Regions from separate parts of the Homo sapiens genome. Here region 2 is linked to region 1. The links are contacts of gene promoters, found by promoter capture Hi-C in human tissues and cell types (Jung and others, 2019). All regions are on one chromosome and are shown on one strand. The core of a region is centred on a gene start or on the middle of the fragment in contact, and the rest is flanking DNA. Distances in the headings are between cores, read along the strand shown.

The links. The method cuts DNA at HindIII sites, captures the fragments that hold promoters and counts their contacts. A contact is called where the count stands out against the background at its distance.
Region 2: a contact is called between a fragment that was not itself captured here and the fragment with the promoter of ECHS1 in region 1, in 2 of the 25 tissues and cell types used here (H1 embryonic stem cells and IMR-90 fibroblasts).

What each region holds. Positions count from the first base shown.
Region 1 is chr10:133,370,966-133,374,603 of GRCh38, reverse strand. ECHS1 (enoyl-CoA hydratase, short chain 1) reads left to right here and starts at 1,250. Exons shown (of 8, transcript NM_004092.4): 1 at 1,250-1,358. The coding sequence starts at 1,271. It overlaps MIR3944 (microRNA 3944), which reads left to right and starts at 2,941; the gene lies at 2,941-3,048. RefSeq lists an enhancer at 507-596 and a silencer at 978-1,487. The HindIII fragment of the contact is 22,751 bases long and covers 1-3,638 here.
Region 2 is chr10:133,506,331-133,511,991 of GRCh38, reverse strand. It overlaps LOC105378575 (a long non-coding RNA gene), which reads left to right. Exons shown (of 5, transcript XR_946512.3): 4 at 2,703-2,779. Among named protein-coding and RNA genes, the nearest start is that of CYP2E1, 18 kb to the left of the region's middle. The HindIII fragment of the contact is 3,032 bases long and covers 1,557-4,588 here.

The DNA.
Region 1 (3,638 bases), core at 1-2,500:
CATTTACACAGGGCGTACACCAAGTAACCAATGGAAACCTCTAGAGGGTATTTAACCCCCCCAAAAAATCTGTAACGGGGCTCTTGAGCCGCTATGCTCAGCCGCTCCCACAGTGTGGAGTTATTTTCGTTGTCTTTTCTTGTTTCTTTTTTGAGACGAAGTCTGGCTCTATCGCCCAGGCTGGAGGGCAGTGGTGCGATCTCGGCTCACTGCAACCTCCGCCTCCCGGATTCAAGCAATTCTCCTGCGTCAGCCTCCCGAGTAGCTAAGACCACAGGCGTGCACCACCACGCCCGGCTAATTTTTGTGTTTTTAGTAGAGAGGGGGGTTTCACCATGTTGCCCAGGCTGGTCTCAAACTCCTGACGTCAGGTGATCTGCCCGCCTTGGCCTCCCAAAGTGCTGGGATTACAGGCCTGAGCCACCGCGCCCGGCCACACTTTTGTTTTCCATAAATCTCGCTTTTGTTGCTTCCTTCTTTCCGTGCTTTGTTTGTGCGTTTTGTCCAGTTCTTTGTTCAAGACGTCAAGAACCTGGACACCCTCCACCGGTCACAATAGCAGTTTCGCTTTCCATTCCATTTTATCCAGGGTGGTTTTATCTCCACCCTGGCGTTTGCAGAATCCGGGCAAGTACACAAATGGATGCTCCACAATACTTGTCTAGATATTTAAAAGGTATAAATAAAATAACTTAAATGAATGAAATTTTTATTATTTAAATCTGTTGAAGTCTTGTGTGCATGAAAATAAAACTCCTCCTAATGTGGCGTTCAGTGCCCACGCCGCTGCCACCGTGCCTGGCCCTGCGCCTGGGCGCGCTGTGTCCGCTGCTACAGACGCCGGCGGGCAGGCGGGCAGGCGGGCAGGCGGGCAGGCGGGCAGGCGGGCAGGCGGGCAGGCGGGCGGGGGGAGGCGGCGCAGAGCCCGGCAGGCGCCGCCGTTGCCTCCGCCTCCGCGCGGTCTCCCCGGGGCCAGCTGGGACCCCGAGGGCTGGGGCGGGGGCGGGGGCGCGGGCGACTGCGGCGGGGCCTGGAGGGCGCTGGTCCCAGCCCAGGGCGGGGTCCCGGGGACGCCCCTCGGCCTTAGATCCGCGAGCGGCAGCTCGGGCCTGGGGGCGGGGCCTGGCGGAGAGCGACCCGCTCACTCTGCCCGGGCTGATCTCGCGAGGGCCGCCTGGTCTCGCGGCGCTGGCCTGTGGGCGGAGCGAGCCCTGAAAGGCTATAGGCGAGGGGGCGGCTCCGCGGGGCCGGGCGAGGAGTCCAGAGAGCCATGGCCGCCCTGCGTGTCCTGCTGTCCTGCGTCCGCGGCCCGCTGAGGCCCCCGGTTCGCTGTCCCGCCTGGCGTCCCTTCGCCTCGGGTGAGTGCGCGGTGAGAGCTGGCGGCCCGAATCTCCTCCTGACTCCGACCTGCACGCCCAGACCAGATCCCAGACCGCACCCCCCTCCCACCTGACCCCGCATCCCCCACCTGACCCCAACCCACACCCCTCTTCCGCCTGACCCCGCACCCTCACCTGACCCCTACCCGCACCCCACTCCGCCTGACCCCGCACCCCCCCGCCTGACCCCGCACCCCCCCACCTGACCCCGCACCCTCCGGCCTGACCCCTACCCGCACCCCACTCCGCCTGACCCCGCACCCCCCCACCTGACCCCGCACCCCCCGGCCTGACCCCGCACCCCTCTTCCGTCCGATCCCGCATCCCCAGGGCCTGACTCCGCACTCTCCTGCCTGACCCCGCACCTACCACCTGACCCCGACCCGCAGCCCCTGCCTGGCTCAGGCCTGCAACACCCCCCTCGCCTAGTGCTGCACCCCCCACCTGACCCGCACCCACAGCCTGACCCAGGCTTAACACCCCCCCACCACCCGCCACCCCGCACCGACACCACCCACCTGACCCTGGCCCGCACCCCCACCCCCTGCCTGGCTCTGCAGGAGGCCACTCTCACCAGGCCACGTCCTGCGGGAGGCCCGGCGGCTGGCTGGTACTGCCCCAGTGCCAAGACCTCTGGCCAACTGGGCGCAGGGTGGGGGTTGTAAAAATCCGGGGTGTTCCCTCGGCTCTAAGAGCAGGCGTAGCTCCTGTGCAGCCGGCCAGCCCGAGAACAGGAGATGCAGGTGCATTTTGTCCTGGGTGCCTCCTGACCAGGGCCACCCCTCAGAGGGTCCTAAGGGAAAAGCTGACACCTCCTCCCCAGCCACAGGGGGCTGCCCTCTTCCTCCCTCGTGGCTCACCCGGGGCCCCACTCATGAGCGGCCATCACCGGCTCTAGTATCTGAGGAATCTTGGGCCATGCCTTGGGCTGGGGAAGAACTCTTGCTTCCTCTTCCTCCCTCACCCTGTGTAGCAGTGGACCACTGAGTTGTGTTGGTTTCATCTCCATGCTCTCCTTGGCCTTCGGCTTCTCCACCCTGACAGCAGCCCTTTCCTGGATCTTGCATGGCGGGCACTGCTGCCAGACACTTCACCTGTGATCTTCCAGTTACCCCTAGAAACCCACAGGATACGGCGGGGCACAGTGGCTAATGCCTATAATCCCAGCACTTTGGGAGGCTGAGGCAGGTGGATCACCTGAGGTCATCAAGACCACCTTGGCCAACATGGTGAAACCCCATGTCTACTAAAAATACAAAAATTAGCCAGGTGTGGTGGTGTGTGACCGTAGTCCCAGCTACTCGGGAGGCTGAGGCAGGAGAATCACCTGAACCCTGTAGGCAGAGGTCGCAGTGAGCCAAGATTGCGCCACTGCACTCCAGCCTGGGCAATAGAGTGAGACTCGGTCTCCAAAAAAAAGAAACCCATAGCACAGGGACTATGATCCCTGCTCTGCCACTAACGGAGGCAAGCATCCAACACACAGGCTACCTTTGTCTTTTCAGGTTCACCTTCTCACCCCTGGAACGCCATTGTCCTTTGTCTCCTTCCCACCTTGCTGTCCACCCAGCAGGCGCAGGTCCTGTGCAGCAGGCCAACCGAGAAGCGCCTGCGTCTCCCATTTTCGGGCTGGCCTGCTGCTCCGGACCTGTGCCTGATCTTAATGCTGCAGGAACACCCAGGATTTTCACATCCCCCACCCTGCGTCCAGTTGGCCAGAGGTCTTGGCACTGGGGCGGTACCAAGTGCAAGGAGCTGCCTTACACCCCCTCACCTGTTGGCATTTGTTGAAAGAAGGTGTTTCCTGGTGCCTTGTCTCAGCAGAGTCCAGGGCTGTCTCCAGAGTGGTGTCCTGGGAAGAGCTGACCAAGGCATATTAGGAGAAGGAAAGCGGCTGTGGGCTGTGTTCTGTGCTGGGGATTTTTCTTTTTTTCTTTTCTTTTTTTTTGAGACGGAGTCTCACTCTGTCACCCAGGCTGGAGTGCAGTGGCATGATCTCAGCTCACTGCAAGCTCCACCTCCTGGGTTCATGCCACTCTCCTGCCTCAGCCTCCCCAGTAGCTGGGACTACAGGCGCCCGCCACAACACCCGACTAATTTTTTGTATTTTAGGTAGAGACGGCGTTTCACCGTGTTAGCCAGGATGGTCTCGATCTCCTGACCTTGTGATTCGACCGCTTCGGCCTCCCAAATTGCTGGGATTACAGGCGTGAGCCACCGCGCCCGGCCCGGGGATTTTCTTTAGGACATGTTCAAACA
Region 2 (5,661 bases), core at 1,823-4,322, 140 kb before region 1:
GTAAGTTTAATGATTACATTATTCAGTTTTTTCCATATTTGCTTCTTGTACTAAATTTGTCCAATTCTGAAACTGTGTTTTGAAGGTTGCCACTGTCATAGAACTATGGTCTAGTTCTTTTTTTATTTCTAGTAGATCTCAGTTCAAATATTTAGTTCCATGTTTTTGGTAAATAGAGATTTGTGGCTGTTACATCTTCTTCATAAATTATGCCTTTTATAATTGTCTACTACCTCTCTGTGTCCTGTTTAGTGCATTTATCTATAAATACTGCAGCTGTTGTAATCTCAATACTATCAAATACATAAGGAAAAGTATGCTAAGTGTATAGCCTGATGGGTTATCACAACATGAGTGTGGCCATGCCGAAGGGCTTTCAGAGTAGAAACATCACCCGCCCTCGGAAAAACATCACTGGCTGTCACCAACTCCTCCCCTAGTCCTAGGGGAGTTTATCCTACCTTTTAATACCACAGAATAGTCCTGGCCACTTTTAGACTTTATGTAACATTCGCTGAATCACACAGTATGCATTCTTTGTGTCTTAATTCTTTTACTTAGCTTCATGTTTGTGTGATTCACTCATGTTTGTGAACTTAACTTCATGTTTGTGTTATTTGTAGAAGTAGTTCATTCTTTTTCACTGCTATATATTATTCCACTCTGTGAGTATAGCATGATGCATCAATTATACCCCAAACAATACTGTTTTTTCTACTTTTTCACTATGCAAATAATGCTGTCATGAAATTTCAGTGCCTGCCTTTTAATGCACCTGCGTTGCTTACCTCTGTTGTTTATATATCTAAAAGTGAAATTGCTGTAACGTAAGGTAAGCACAAGTCATAAGTCAAGCTTCTATGCATGTGTGAGTCTGCACTTTGTGTGGCTCCATTGGTTTATTTGTCCCTCCTTGCACCAATCCCACACTGTCTTATTTAGAACATTTTAAAAATTACTCTTGATATCTGATAGTGTAACTCTTCCAACTTTGTTCCTCTCCTAGGGGATATTCTTGGCCCTTTGCATTTCTACCTACATTTTAAAGTCATCTTGTCCATTTCTACCAAAAACTACTGAAATGTCTGGAATCGCACTCAATCTATAGATCAATTTGTGGAGAACGGATATGTTGCAACAATGACTGCTCTAATTCATAAACATGGTATCAGTTATTTCTGTGCAAGGAAACTCCCAGAACTCTCTCCTAATCCAGACTAGGCTGGGATGAGTGGCCTGTTGCAGGTGGGGTGGGTGGAGTGGTCCTGCCTTCCTGAAGGTCTTGTGTGGCTCTGCTTCACATCTCTCATGCTTTTTGGAACAGTTGAGGAGCTGACACATGTGTCCTCATGACCGTGGCAGGAGCACCTTCTCAGACACCTCCTTGCATTGGTTGCTCACTGTTTTAATCATGCACTGTTGGGTCTGACATGAATTTGGAGAAATATGTGACCTACCAAAGGCCTCGAAAGGCATATCTGGGGTCTCTGCATTCTCTTCATTTGTTGCAGACAAGTTGTTCAAAGCTAAGATTCAGGATGTGATGGTGCTCATGGCAATTTCCCTGCTGCACTAATTTTGGAATTTTCTTTTTTGTTCCATTGTTATTCTTGGCTAGTTTCAAAAGAGGAGAGTATAATAAAAATGACACGCATCTACTATCATTAAACAGAAGTCTCCATACTACTTTCCGTTCTTTTATTTTTCAAAATCATCATATGTAAAATAGACTTCTTTTCCTTTGGTGTACAGATCTATGAAATATAATGCTATTATATGTATTATATATATTATATTTATAATATAGAGTATATTTATTATATTTATTGTAGTATATATTATATTTTATGTAACTCCCACCATAAACGGGTACAAAACAATTCCCTCAATGCAATTATTTATCAGTTCTAGTAGTTTTGATGTAGTCTTTATGGTTTTCTGTACGTAATATCATGTCATCTGCAAACAGGAACCGTATTATTTCCTCCTTTCCAATCTGGATGCCTTTTATTTCTTGCTCTTGCCTAATTACTCTAGCTAAGACTGACAGTAGTACTACGTTGAATGGAAGTGGTGAGAGTGGGCATCCTTGTCTTGTTCTTGATCTTAGATGGTTTGACGCTTGTCTATAGTGATATGCTTTGACTATTTTCTTCTTATCTTTTGTGTATCTACTACAGATTTTTGCTTTGTGGTTACTTGAGGCTTGCAGAAAACATCTTATGTTTATAACCAGCTATTTTTAAGCTGATAAAAGCTTAATTTTGATTGCATAAATAAACTCTACATTTCTACTCCCCCACCTCATATTTTATGCTTTTGATGTCACAATTTATATCATTTCATCATTTGTATCTCTCAACAGATTATTGTAGCTATGGTTGTTTTTAATTGCTTTATCTTTTAACCTTTGTACTAGAGATAGAATTGTTTTACAGAAGACCATTGCCTGATTACTAGTTTGAATCTGACAATGTACTTACTTTTACCAGTAAGTTTTTTATTTTTGTATTTTTATCCTATCAATTAGTATCCTTTTAATCCAGCTTGAAGAATTCCTAGAATTTCTTGTAAGGCACATCTAATGGTGATATCCTTCCTCGACTTTTGTTTGTTTGAGAAAGTCTTATTCTTGCCTTCATTTTTGAAAGATAGTATTACTAGGTATGGTATTCTTGGGCAGTAATTTTTTTTTCTTTTAGGATTTTGAATATATCATCCAGCTCCTTCCTGGCCTATAAAGTTTCTGGAAAAAGAAAATCCATGGATATCTTACACGGTGGGCATCCCTTTTGTGTAACTATTTGCTGTCCCTTGTTGCTTTCAAAATTCTCTCTTTGTCTAAATTTTTAACAATTTGATTATAATATGTCTCAAATGTGTGTCTCTGGATTTTTCCTATTTGGTGTCATCTGAGTTTCCTGAATCTTGATTTCAATTTATTTCCCTAAGCTTGGGAGGTTTTTCCCCATCATTTCTTTGAATATGTTTTGTGTCCCTTTCTCCCTCTCTTCCTCCTGGTCTACCAATTCTGAATATATTGTTCTGCTTGTTGAAGTCCTGTAAGCTATCTTTTTCATTCTTTTTACTTCTAGGATTGGATTATTTCCAATGACATGTCTTTAATCTCACTGGTTCTCTCTTTCACTTAATCTGGTCTGCTGTTGAACACCTCTACTGAATTTTTCAGTTCAGTTATTATATTCTTCAGTTTTATAATTTCTATTGGCCGCTTTTGAAATACTTTCTATCTCTTTTTTGAAATTATTTGTTTATGCATTTTTCTCCTGACCTTAGTGAACATCTTTATGACCATTATTTTGAATTCCTCATTGGGTAGATCATACATCTCCACTTCACTAGGGTTGGTTTCTGCAGATTTATCTTGATCTTTTATTTGGAACCCATTTCCCTGTTTTTCTATTTCCTTTGTTTCTCTGTATTAGTGTCCGTGCATTACATAAGACAGCAGCCTCTCCCAGTTCTGTCAGACTGTGAGACTCCCAGTTCTGTCAGTGTAGGAGAAGGCCCTCACCAATTGGTCCAGAGATTCTGAGGTGCCTCTTAAATCCTGGTTTGTCCAAACCACTGTCTCTGATTTTAGTGCCCCCCGACTGCCCACCGTAGAATTTTACAATGTGCCAAGTCCTGTCAGTGCCTTGAGATAGGTAAGATAGAAACTAGATGCAGTTGGAAAGATTGGAGTGTTAAATATATGTTCCAGTTTCTTCTTTGCTCAGGGTGAAGCTAAGAGCAAGAGTTTATCTCCCACTCTCTATGCACTATGTCAGAAGAAGGATCTGTGACAAGTGTCTGCATTTTCATGCAGAATGCACCCTCTGATAGTCACTAGAAGTTGGATTGTTGAATGTACACTTCTTTATTTTCTGTCGTCCACGGAGACTCAGAAATGCAGAGACCCACCAATTCCCAAAGTTAGGTGGTTAAGGAGGCACTCCTCCGGGTGGGAGCTGTAGAAGTTGTGGCACTTGGTGCACAAACTACTTCTAAAAGGAATCTACAGAGCTGGTTTTATCACTGGGGTGAGGTGGAGGGAAAGGCTTGGGAAGTGCCTGAACTCTCATTCAGAATCCTGGAGGTCTATCGTTTGTCGGCCCTGTTGGCTCCCAGATGCAGGCTAGATAGGAGCCTGATCCTTAAGCAGTAACTGGAAAATTGTGCAGACTAACCCCTTCCAGGGAGAAACTGGAAGGCGTGTATTTAACCTCTTGTCTGCATTGGTCCTTGCGGGTGTAACTCCTATAAGTGCTTGCATGCCCATTTTTTTTCTTTCTTTTTTTTTTTTTTTTTTTTTTTGAGACGGAGTCTCACTCTGCCGCCTAGGCTGGAGTGCAGTGGTGCAATCTCGGCTCACTGCAACCTCCGCCTCCTGGGTTCAAATGATTCTCTTGCCTCAGCCTCCCGAGTAGCTGGGATTACAGGCATCCGCCACCACACCCGGCTAATTTTTGTATATTTAGTAGAGACAGGGTTTCACCATGTTGGCAAAGCTGTTCTCGAATTCCTGACCTCAGGTGATCCACCTACCTTGGCCTCCCAAAGTGTTGGGATTGCAGGCGTGAGCCACCGCGCCCAACCTTGCCTGCCCATTTAAAACTACCTCTTTGTACCGTAATCTAGGGAGACTAGCAAATGCCAAGACGCTTTCATTCCCAGAGTTAGACAGTTTAGGATGCAGTCTTTTGGGTGGGAGCTGTAAAAGTTGGGGCAGTCAGTGTGTGGACAAACCTCTTCCAGAAAGAATGGGTAGATCTGGATATATCACAGGTGAACCACAGGAGAGGAGAAGGCTTAAGATGTGCTGAGCTACTGCTTAGCCTCCCGGAGGGCTATACACTAGTCCCCCTTATCCGTGGGTGATACAGTCCAAGACATTCTGCAGATTCCTGCAGCTGTGTATGGCACCAAACCCTATATATACTGTGCTTTGTTTCCTATACATACCTATGATGAAGTTTCATTTATAAATTAGGCACAATAATGAAGGAAACATAATAACTAATTATAAAATAGAACAATTATAACAACATATGGTGATAACAGTTATTTAAAACTTACAAACTGTCTATTTCTGGAATTTTCCGTTTAATATTTTCAGACTGCAGTTGGCCATAGTTAACTGAAACTTTGGAAAGAAAAACCATCAATAACAGAGGAATATTGTAGTTTGTCAGCCCGGTTAACTCCCTAATTCAGGCTAGTTAGAAGCTCTGCTGTTAGCAGAAGTTGGAGGAGTATACCAACAAACTCCTTTTAGGGTTTTGCTACTTTGTTCTGTGGTCTAGGGAGACTTGTGTATGCCTAGTCCCTTCCACTACCAGAGCTAGGTGAATTAAAAGTCAAACCATGGGAACCTTGGAGCTAGGGTCATATACATGTGGTCCATACCCTTCTCTCCTCAGGGAGAAGTTATGTGTTGGGAGTTTTTCCTGGTTTATGGTGCAGTACCCAGGGTGATATTTGTGCCTGCGTGTGCCTCAGCTTTTTCTACCTGCTTGATGTGAATATTTTCTCAGTTGTCTGCTGTGTAAGAGACTCTCAACTTTTTCTGACTTTCTCTCAAAGAAAATTTATCCATGTGTAGGTGTTTATTCCACGTGTCCATGGGTGGAGGGAGAGGTAGAAGTCTCCTGTGCCACC